Regions from separate parts of the Homo sapiens genome. Here all the other regions are linked to region 1. Evidence: promoter capture Hi-C in human tissues and cell types (Jung and others, 2019). All regions are on one chromosome and are shown on one strand. The core of a region is centred on a gene start or on the middle of the fragment in contact, and the rest is flanking DNA. Distances in the headings are between cores, read along the strand shown.

What was found. Contacts are between HindIII fragments. The study calls those that stand out against the background at their distance.
Region 2: a fragment that was not itself captured here is called in contact with the fragment with the promoter of RNF175 in region 1 in 2 of the 25 tissues and cell types used here (H1 embryonic stem cells and neural progenitor cells).
Region 3: a fragment that was not itself captured here is called in contact with the fragment with the promoter of RNF175 in region 1 in 1 of the 25 tissues and cell types used here (aorta).
Region 4: a contact is called between a fragment that was not itself captured here and the fragment with the promoter of RNF175 in region 1, in 2 of the 25 tissues and cell types used here (dorsolateral prefrontal cortex and liver).

Annotation. Positions count from the first base shown.
Region 1 is chr4:153,758,666-153,761,323 of GRCh38, reverse strand. It overlaps RNF175 (ring finger protein 175), which reads left to right and starts at 1,300. Exons shown (of 9, transcript NM_173662.4): 1 at 1,300-1,527. The coding sequence starts at 1,462. The HindIII fragment of the contact is 12,933 bases long and covers 1-2,658 here.
Region 2 is chr4:154,223,200-154,225,857 of GRCh38, reverse strand. The region is part of intron 12 of LOC101927947 (a long non-coding RNA gene); the gene reads right to left. Among named protein-coding and RNA genes, the nearest start is that of DCHS2, 270 kb to the left of the region's middle. The HindIII fragment of the contact is 8,820 bases long and covers 1-2,658 here.
Region 3 is chr4:153,308,262-153,310,919 of GRCh38, reverse strand. All of the region lies in intron 6 of TRIM2 (tripartite motif containing 2), which reads right to left. It also overlaps the pseudogene ANXA2P1. Among named protein-coding and RNA genes, the nearest start is that of MND1, 35 kb to the left of the region's middle. The HindIII fragment of the contact is 6,924 bases long and covers 1-2,658 here.
Region 4 is chr4:154,206,697-154,209,354 of GRCh38, reverse strand. LOC101927947 (a long non-coding RNA gene) reads right to left here. Exons shown (of 15, transcript XR_007058336.1): 12 at 2,302-2,387. Among named protein-coding and RNA genes, the nearest start is that of DCHS2, 280 kb to the left of the region's middle. The HindIII fragment of the contact is 4,839 bases long and covers 1-2,658 here.

The DNA.
Region 1 (2,658 bases), core at 51-2,550:
ACCTGAAAACTTGTTCAAAAGACAAATGCTCAGGCTCCACCCTAGACCTACTATATTAAAAACTCTAGGGCTCAACTCCAGCAATCTGAAGATTTTTGTTTTGTTTTTTGATAGAGTCTCGCTCTGTTGTCCAGGCAGAAGTGCAGTGGTTCCATCACGGCTTACTGCAGCCTGAACCTCCCGGGCTCCGGCGATCCTCCAGCCTCAACCTCCTGAGTAGCTGGGGCTACAGGTGTACCACGCCCAGCTCACTTTTGTATATTTTATAGAGATGGGGCTTCACCATGTTGCCTAGGCTGGTCTCAAACTCCTAGGTTCAAGCAATCCGCCCGCCCTGTCCTCCCAAAGTGCTGGGATTAAAGGCATCAGCCACTGTGCTTGGCCAGCACTCTGAGTTTTAACAAACTCAGCATTCCTCCATAGGATTCTGATGCCCAGTTAAGGCTGGAAAACCAAGGCACCATCCGTGATAAATTGTACTTAGATGCTTATTTTTCTCTATCCCCTGTTAGGCTCTACGTTCCACAATGGCAGAGAAATGTCCATCTTGGTCTGTTCACCTCCTTTGTAGGTGTTGACAAATACGAGCCATCACAAACTGGAAAGGGGTAAGCTGTATTTCGTAGGACACATCATCTAATTCTGTGCTCCTCTTTTCTGTTTCCCCAAATCAACACCCAGGTATTTCTAAAGGCTTGCCTAAACGTTCCAGCTTGTTCTCAACCTTGAAGCCAGGCTTAGGCCTAAGTTGTAAAGGCGGGAGGGGAGACCCTGGAGGTAGAGGGGCAAAGGCAAGATGCTTGCGTCGCAGGGGCCCTGCATGGCCTGGAGCAGCATAGGGGCCAAGATGGTCTGCGCTCTCCCTAGATTGGAGTTTCTCTCCTTCATCATCTTTGGAGGAAGCACAGATAACTGAGGAAAGTCTGTATCTGCACAGCCACCCGAACTCCTGCCTCCTAATAAACACCTCTGAGGGAGAGGAAACTCTCTCTCTCTCTTCTCTTCCTCCCCAGCACCCCTCGCCCCCCCACCGCCATTTCTCACTCCTCTACTCCCCTCTCTCTCCCTACCCACCTCTGACCCCTCCTCCAGTCCTGCCGCCCGGTAACAAAACCGGGGTTCCCGCCACACGCACCCGGTAGGGCTCAAGACGCTTTATCGGCGACAATGGCTGGCTGAATGGGAGGCCTGAGGTTCTGAAGGAACCGGGGTGCTGGCGACCGGGACCTCGAGGCCGCTGCTGGGGAGGACGCTGGCCAGCGTGCAGGGGGCGGAGGCGGGGCGTGCCGGGAGGCTCCCATCTCCCGCCCCGCACAACCCGGGCAGGGCCGCCGCTCCGCCGCCGCCGCAGATCCGGCTCTCACCCTCGGCTCCCGAGGCCCCGCGGCGCCTCCTTCTGCGGACTCTGCGGGACCCTCCCCGGCAGGCGCTGTGCCCTGGAGAAGGCACAGTGGCTCAGGCATGGCCGCGGGGACGGCGGCGCGGAAGGCAGCGCCGGTGCTGGAGGCCCCCCCGCAGCAGGAGCAGGTACTGGCGCGGGGGCGCGGGCGTGGGGGACGCCAGGCCGGGGTCCCGGGGCTCACGCTGGTGCCGGGCAGGCTGCACAGACTGGTCTCCAAGACCCCGGGCCCCACCGGGGAGAACCGGCCCTGGAAAGACGTGGGGACGGACGCATGACCTTCTGGAAGATGCCACCGTGCGGGGTGCCAGTCCCTCCTCCACTCCCTCCCTCCCCACTTCTGTGCCCTCCCCGCTACCTTCCTTTCCTCCTTCTGATCCTCTTCCTTCGCTCCATCCCTCTTCTCGCATCCTCGCACTTTCTCTTCCAGGCTCACCCCTTCCACTCCCGCCCTCCTTTGTGACCGCCTGTGCCCTCCTCCCTCCTCGGCGGAAGCCCCCAGAGCCCAGGGTCAAGGTCGTAAGCTGCGAGAGAGGGGAAGGGGTGTACTGCAGGCTTTTGGCTAGACCGCCCTGGTTCTCAAACTCGAGTGTCATCAGAATCACTCGGAGGGCCTGTTACCACGCAGACTGCTGGTCTGTGCCCAGGGTTTCTGATTCAAGATGTGTACCCTGATCGTCAGCTTGTCTTGCCTGGTGCTCAACCTAGCCCATTTCTGCTTCTGCTGGCGTCAATTGCAAACCCAATCTTAATTTATTCTTCGTTCATAGGACAATTCTTCTTAGGCTACATCCAGGTACCAGGAGGATTTGGGGGTGGAGGAGGGTAGGTCTTACCTGGAGGAACCCAAATCCCATCCGTAAAACGAGGACAAAAATAACTCTTAAGGGCAAAGATAACTCTTAAACAACAACAAAAATCACTCACAGAGCGGGTAGGAAGAGATTAATGTCCCAAAATAGGTTCAGGCAAAGAACTGTAGGATTTCTGAGAAGGGCTTGCTCCTGACTAACCCCCTTCTCCTCCAACCCGTGAGGGCGTGGCATTCGAGCTGGGTGTTGGGGAATGGACAGGATCTGACCTCATGGGCCAGAGAATTCTAGATGGAGGGAACAACAGTACCAAATGGCTTGGAGATTTTTTTTTTTTTAATATTGGGATGGATGGCCATGGGACAAGGCAGAGAGAGGGGACTGTCCACTCTGACTGCCAGAAACCTAGGGGTCAGGAATGCTTATAGCAAAAAATAAGGGTGGGCT
Region 2 (2,658 bases), core at 58-2,557, 460 kb before region 1:
GAAAATTATATCTCCTGAAGTGCATAGAGTAAACTCGAGTAGATGTTTTTGAATAGAAATAGTAAATGTTAGAAAAATGCCAGTTGTTCCTAAGTAAATTTACAAATTTAACCTTATCTTAATATACATATTATATTTTTTTCTGGAGTTAAAGAACTTGATTATACTGTTTATTTGGAAGCATAAACAGACAAGATAACTGGGAAACACTAAAAAGAGCTGTGTGTGTGTATATGCATGTGTACACAAACATGCACTCATGCACTAACCCTATCAGATAACAAATGTATTATTAAAGCCTCGATAATTAAAACAGGGTGGCAATAGGGCATGACTAGATAGACTAATGGAACCGAATAGAAAATACAAAAATGGATCCAAGTGCATGGAAGGCTTCCTGTAATGATGAATTAGGTTGTTGTATACCAACCCCACCACTGAGAATAAGTACAAAAAGCTGGGTAATTAATAAAAAGGAGGAGGGACAGAGGAGGAGTGGAAGCTAGAGGTATAAGAGTAGAAGGAAAAGGAGAAGAAGAAAAAGAAACAGTTTTGTGTACGTGTGTTTGTATGTGAAGCATCAGAGAACCACCAAGGCAGTTAAGACTTGAGATGCCATGCTCCTGGAAAGATGAGAAACACAGAGAGGTAAACCTAATAGTACACTGTGCCTCTAACACCCTTGAGGCTGAGCAGCAATGTCAACTGCAAGGTGAAGTAGCTACACAGAACTATTGGCAATTTTTTGGGGACAAAAATTAGAGTTAAGGGTTGTAAACCCAAACGTATCTGAGACAGGCATCAATCAATTTAGAAAGTTTATTTCACCAAGGTTAAGGACATGCTCATGACACAGCCTTGAAAGATCCTGATGACATGTTCCCAAGGTGCTTGTGGTACGGCTTGCATTTTTATACGTTTTAGTGAGACATAATACATCAATCAATGCATGTAAGATGTACATTGATTCAATGTGCAAAGCAAGACAACTCAAAGTGGGGGTTCCCAGGTCATAGGAACAGTTAAAGATTTTGTGATTGGCAATTGCTTGAAAGAGTGAAATTATCTAAACACCTGGCATCAGTAGAAAGGAATGTCTGTGTTACAATAAGGGGTTGTGGAGACCAAAGTTTTATCTTTCAGCTGAAGACTCCAGGTAGCTGACTTCAGAGAGAATAGACTGTAAATGTTTCTTAACAGACTTAAAGTCTGTGTTGATGTGAATGTTGGTTGGCTTTTCCTGAATTCCAAAAGACAGGAGGTAAAATTAGGCATGTCCAACTCCCACTTCCTATCATGGCCTGAACTAGTTATTCAGGTTAACTTTGGAATGCTGTTGGTTGAGAGGAGGAATTCATTCAGATAATTGGGGTCTTAGAATTTTATTTCTGATTTGCTTACCAAGGAGGCAGGCCTTTGATAAATATGCCAGCCTGTAAGTTGGAAATCCTAGAAAGCTACACCTCAGGAGCAGAGGTAAACTAGAAAAGACAAGCTCTCACAAAGTATATTGCCAAGTTTCAAATAAAATCAATCACGTATTTGAGTCTGGTAATCTGTCACTACTCTAACTGCCTGCCAAAAATAATATTTAGACCTCTATAGAAGATAAAATCATTCAGAGCATTTGTGATTATTCACAACAATGTCCAGCATTCAATCCAAAATTGCTAGAGATACTGAGGAAAAGCCCACATGACCAGAGCTAATATATATATATATATATATATATATATATATATATATATATATACACATAATATACATAAATACATAATAGAAACAGGCAACAGGAAGTTCATGTATTGCATTATCCCACGTGGACTTTCAAATAGCTGTTCAAGAAATTAGATGCCATAATAGAGAATATCAGGAGAGAACTGAAAACTATTCTTTTAATGAAAAAGAAATTCCAAACTATAAAATACAACTGCCACTTCACACCTACTAAGATAGCTATAATAAAAAGAAAGATAATAACACGTGAGAATTAGTGATGATATGGAGAAATTGGAACTCTCATATACTGCTGATGGGAATGTAAAACGGTACAGTCTGTACGGAAACTGTCCAGGAGGTTCTCAAAAAGTCAAATCATAATACTCTGCAATTCCATTCCTAGGTGTATATCCAATAGAAATAAAAGTTATGTTCATATGAACATTTGTCCGGGAATGTTTATAGCAATATTATTTATAAAAGCCAAAAAGTGGAAACAACCCAAATGTCAATTAACTGATGAATATATAAACCAAATGTGGTATATCGATAAAATTGAGTATTATTCAGCAAAAATAAAGTACTGACACATGCTGTAAGACAGATGAACTTGAGAAAAATTATGCAAAGTGAAAAAATCCAGTCACAAAAGATCACGTATTTTATGATTGTTTATGTGTAATTTCCAGAAAAAGCAAATATATAGAGACATAGAAAGCAGATTAGTGGGGCTCAGAGGTTGGAGAGTTGGGAGAAGACGGTGAATGACTGCTAATGGGTATGGGTTTTCTTTTTTGATAATAAAAATGTTATAAAATTAATTGTAGTGGTGGTTATATGACTCTGTGAATTTACTAAAATCTATTGATTGTACACTTTAAATAGGTGAATTATTATATGATGTATGATTTATATTATATATGAATTATATATTAATAA
Region 3 (2,658 bases), core at 90-2,589, 450 kb after region 1:
GGTTTGAATTTAAGGAGAGCTCAAGTCTGTTGCCCACATGTAAATTAAATCACAAGGTCAGAGGAATGTCTGTTTGTCTAACATTGCTTATATATTTTTGAAAGAAGCTAAACGAAACAGGCACTACCATTTTTATTTTGCAATATTTGTTTTTAAAAAATCTTTTCTTTAAGCTCTATGGCTTGGTTTCTGAATGGCTGGTTGGGATTCCTGGTAACATCTCCTGATTCTTACGGTCCTCTTTTGTCGTATTGGAGATTATTGATTATTATTATTTTTTAAACTCTACCTGAAAGCACAGCAGAATCAGTGTGTTACTCCTGAAGATTAAAAGGACACCACTAGCATATACTTGGGAAGACAATTGATGCCAACTATTTTCACCAACAGTTAAACTAGAAATATCTTGATGGTGATGCAGCACTACAGTAGATTGTCATTATGCTGCAATGTTCAAGTGTTTGTAAAGTGTCTTAAGGCAATTCCAGAAGTTAGAAATAATTTGGGATCATGCCTTACTCTTCAAGCTTTTCAGTAAATTCTGTTTCATTTGTAGAAAGTCTCTTCTCTCTCTCTAAAGTATTCTAAATATATAATAAAAACTAGTTCTTTCATAACAAATATAAATAACACAAAACACATATAATACTTATAAAATATTTTTCTATCTACTTTAATGTAAAAGATTTCATTTGATGGTTACATATTAGCTAGTAGAATGAATAACAAGAATTTTTAAAGTAATTATAATCAATTTAACAATTATTCTATAATTCCATAATTAAATCATTTTGTTTTTCCAGATGCAAGTCTAGCCTATGAAGCACAAAATGAATTTTTAATTCAACAGCTTCTCACCCATATTCTTCCTGGTCACTTCCACCTACCCCTCCAGGAAGATTACATAAGGTGAACCCTTAGACTGAAATAGGGGATCAATAAATGCAGATTTCCTCTCACCACCCACTCCAACTTAATATGAAATTAATGCTGGCCGGGCACAATGGCTTACACCTGTAATCCCAGCACTTTGGGAGGCCAAGGTGGGTGGATCACTTGAGGTCAGGAATTTAAGACCAGCCTGGCCAACATAATGAAACCCCATCCCTACTACTAAAAATACAAAAAATTAGCTGAGCATGGTGGCGCATGCCTGTAATCCCAGCTACTCAGGAGGCCGAGGCAGGAGAATTGTTTGAACCCAGGAGGCAGTGGTTGCAGTGGGCTGAGATCATGCCACTGTACTTCAGCCTGCAAGACTCCATCTCAAAAAAAAAAAAAAAAAAGAAGTTAATGCTAAATAAATCTAGATGTTTTGAATGGAATCATGCAACAAGATGAAACTGAGCCAAGTGTAAGATCTAACACAGGATCTTCAATCAAGTAGGTGCTTAACAAATGTTTGCTGGATGAAAAAGTGCATGAATAAGTTATTAATGAGTGAGTAAATTACAACCCCCATTGTATCACTGGAAAACAAAATGTTCAATTATATTTATAGCACTTTCATGTACATTTTCTCACATACCATCCCATGAGATAGCAGGACAAACATTATCATCCCCATTTTATAGATGAGAAAGTTGAAGCTAGACACATTACCGAGATCATCAGAGACAGGGGGAAGAATAAAACCTGGTTCTCCTGATCCTTTACATAACACTTTTTTCCCCAATACACACATGGCTTCTTCTGGGTTTTGGTGGTGAAGATAATTACATTTTGGGCTCACATGAATCATGTTTTCTCTTTAAAATCCTTTAGAAAACCCCATCCTTTAACACATGATACTTTATTTAACTGTCTGTATCCTTCACTACACTGTAAGTTGCTTGAGGGCAGGAGCAACATCTGTCCTGTACACCATTGCACCCTATAACACAGCATAGTGCCTAGCACTTAGTCAATATTAGTTGCATCTTTTTCCACTTGAAATGCAAGAAGAGTTCCCAAGGATGAGATTCTCAAGGATGGGGTGAAGGTCCTATAATGACCTAAGATGCCAACTTAGCACGACCTCCCTCCTCATATATTTTAGGGAGGAAAGGTGGTAGTTTGCAGAGGTGGGGCAGGGGAGAGGGGCATAAAATAATATATTTTCAGCTCAGCATCTGGGGACGCTCTCAGGTCTTGGTGCCCAGCCCAGCTTCCTTCAAAATATCTGCTGTTCATGAAATCCTGTGCAAGCTCAGCTTGGAGGGTGAACACTCTACACTCCCAAGTGCATTTGGGTCAGTCAAAGCCTACACCAAATTTGATGCTGAGCAGGATGCTTTGAACATTGAAATGGCCATCAAGACCAAAGGTGTGGATGAGATCACCACTGTCAACATTTTGACTAACCACAGCAATGCACAGAGACAGGATATTGCCTTCACCTACCAGAGAAGGACCAAAAAGGAACTTGTATCAGCACTTAAGTCAGCCTTATCTGGCCACCTAGATAGTGGCTTTGGGCCTATTAAAGACACCTGCTCAGTATGATGCTTCTGAGCTAAAATCTTCCATGAAGGGGCTGGGAACCAACAAGGACTCCCTCATTGAGATCATCTGCTCAAGAACCAACCAAGAGCTGCAGGAAATTAACAGAGTCTACAAGGAAATGTACAAGACTGATCTGGAGAAGGACATTATTTCGGACACATCTGGTGACTTCTG
Region 4 (2,658 bases), core at 99-2,598, 450 kb before region 1:
AATAGGATGTTTGTCCACAAATCCTCTTCCAAAACTTAGCAAAGAAGTGGGTAGGAAGGAGCAGTACAGTTTGCCAGTTCTCTGGATGTGTTTATTTAGTTCATCTGCTTGCAAAGCATTTCTGTATCTCATTTGTTTTTATTCCAGGAAAAGACTGACAAATGAGTTATAAAATTCCCACTATATATATGAAGAAACTAAGCATAAGTGAGGTCAGAGAATCTCCCAGAAATAACATATTTGACAGTGGCAGTGTTGAATCCAGGGATTGAAAATCTAGCACGGGTGGGCCATGTGGGTATAGGGGACTTTCCAGTTCCGCTTCTGGACACTGCCCGTTCTTTGTCTATCCCATGGGTTGGGTGGTCTCTATGGTCCTTCGAGCCCCTCATCCAGATATCCAGATAGCCAGCCTCCTGTTCATTTGTTCTCCACTTTCTTCCCACTTCTATGTCTAGCACCAAGTGCACTTTGATTGTTAGGCCTTCCCATGTCCCTGAGACATGGGCGATTAGACCCCCCAGGAGAGCTCCCCAAGATGCTCAGAATCCTACTCCTAAATCATTCTAAGGAACCTGAGAGGAGGAAGAGTCCGGGAACTCAGAGCTCACATCCTTTCCTATGCAGATAAACTCAGTAACGCACATCTACATAAAGGTGGGACAAAATTCCCAGCAGCAGGGAGAAGACTCAGCAAGGCCCTGGTGGGGGCAATTCTAGGCGGACGTGAGTCACTGACACTCACTGACCTCACTGGGCGGTGCCCTCCTGAGCACTCAGCCACACCCACAGCCCCTTTGCCTTTGCATCACAGGGGAGAAGCAGGTGGAGAGGAAAAGCACAGAAACATGTCTGGCCCTGACCACAGGGCACAGCTTCCTGAAAGAAAAAACTTGGATTGTTCATAGGAAATAATGGAACAAGCATTAGTTAATCTAATTATGGTATTAAAAACAAACAAACAAACAAACAAAAACAGAGGGTTTCCCGAATGATTTCTTTGCTGACTTCTCACTTGGGTTGAGAGACCCAGGAAGAAGCAATAAGTATGTCACAGTCCAACAGGGTTTGGCCCACCATCTGATAAAAATGAGTGTCCATGCTTACAATAACAGCTAATATTTATTGTGTGTGTACTAGATGCCAGACATGCTCTAAGTGTATAATCTCATTTTGTCCTCAAATAACCCTAGAAATTGCCATTATTTCCAATTACAGATACAAATCTATTTGGGAATATTCTGGGTACTGACCTACTATTTGGTCTAAGGCTTCTACATCTTTTTCAACTTGGAGAACATTTTGGAAATTTTTTTTCTCAGTCAATCTTCAAAACACAAGATTTCTTGGCCCATTATTTATACAGGTTCTATAAGAGTAAAATAGGTTCTCCCCTGGGGAGAGGGACTTTAAAAAGTGCGAGAAATAGCAAAGACAGGAGGTTGTCACTCAAACAAGTAGATATGCTAAAGCTGCCAGCAGAGACAGACTAGCAGGTAGTGGAATAATAATTAATATTTTATTACTCTCAGAGCTTCATTCTTTCATTAATGTTTGAATAAGATAGGTCTGTTTTATAATGTTTTCTTATGTGTGTTTCTGGGTCTACTTACTTCTCCTGTATGTTTTGTCTTTTTTCCCCCTTTCAGGTTTTTTCTTTCTTGTTTCTGTCATTCAGTTTCAGGTAGCCTTTTGGGTCTCTTTTTGCTTTGAAGATTATCTCTTTTTTTTTAATCCTTGCTTTTTGTTGGAGGAGTCTTTACCTCTATCATTGTCATTTGTTAAAACTATGTTATTTTTCCATTCCTCTCTTTTCATCCACTTAGCCAATTGTGATCTGTTTTCATTCATTCTGTTTTTAATTACAAGCTTCCTCGCATGGTGCTTTTTCTCTGCTCTCCTTCATAATTTTCCTTTATCTCTTCATAACTAATTTTTTTCTCTAATTAATGGGAAGCTTATCTAACTATTCAAGTATTTATGATTTCTCCCTAATTGGTCCTTCTTTCTCCTTTCCTTGGGATCTTCCTCCAGCACTCAATTTGGTAATGCACTGAGTTGAAACAGAAGGATCTCACAATTTTTCCATTACTCAGTCATTCTCTATCTTTCAGAAACAAGTTCATGAAATTACCTACAGTGCCTTTAGGCTATAGTTCTCCCTTTAGCTTAGATTAAAATGTGACAGGTGTAGCTGGAAGTTACCTACATTAATCACAGACAGAATATAAGGAACAAAGTGCATCAGGAGGTAAGGACTGGAGTGCAAGAGCTTCTAACTAGTGAAAGCAAGGTACTTACGTGTGCAGACAGTCAGAAAATGGTCCTCTCAATCAATGATGTGGGAGATGAGCTGGAGTTTCCTTTGTCTCCCTGAAGTTGTAAATCTTTGAAAACAAAAGCAATTTTGAAAAATATAGTTAAAAATGTTTCATGGGGGTCTCACTGCCTTTTTTTGGAGACAATTTTCCAGGCCACCTTGCATTTGTTTGGTTCTTATTTCCAAAAGGCATTGGCATTATCTCAATTCATCTTATTAATAACTCTAAGAAAAAAAAAAACTGCACTGAAATTGCCCAGTTCACAGGTGAGCTTTCTCAGGGATGGAGTTTCACTTGTTCAATCTAATGTAAGATTTAATAACAAACAAGGTTTTCG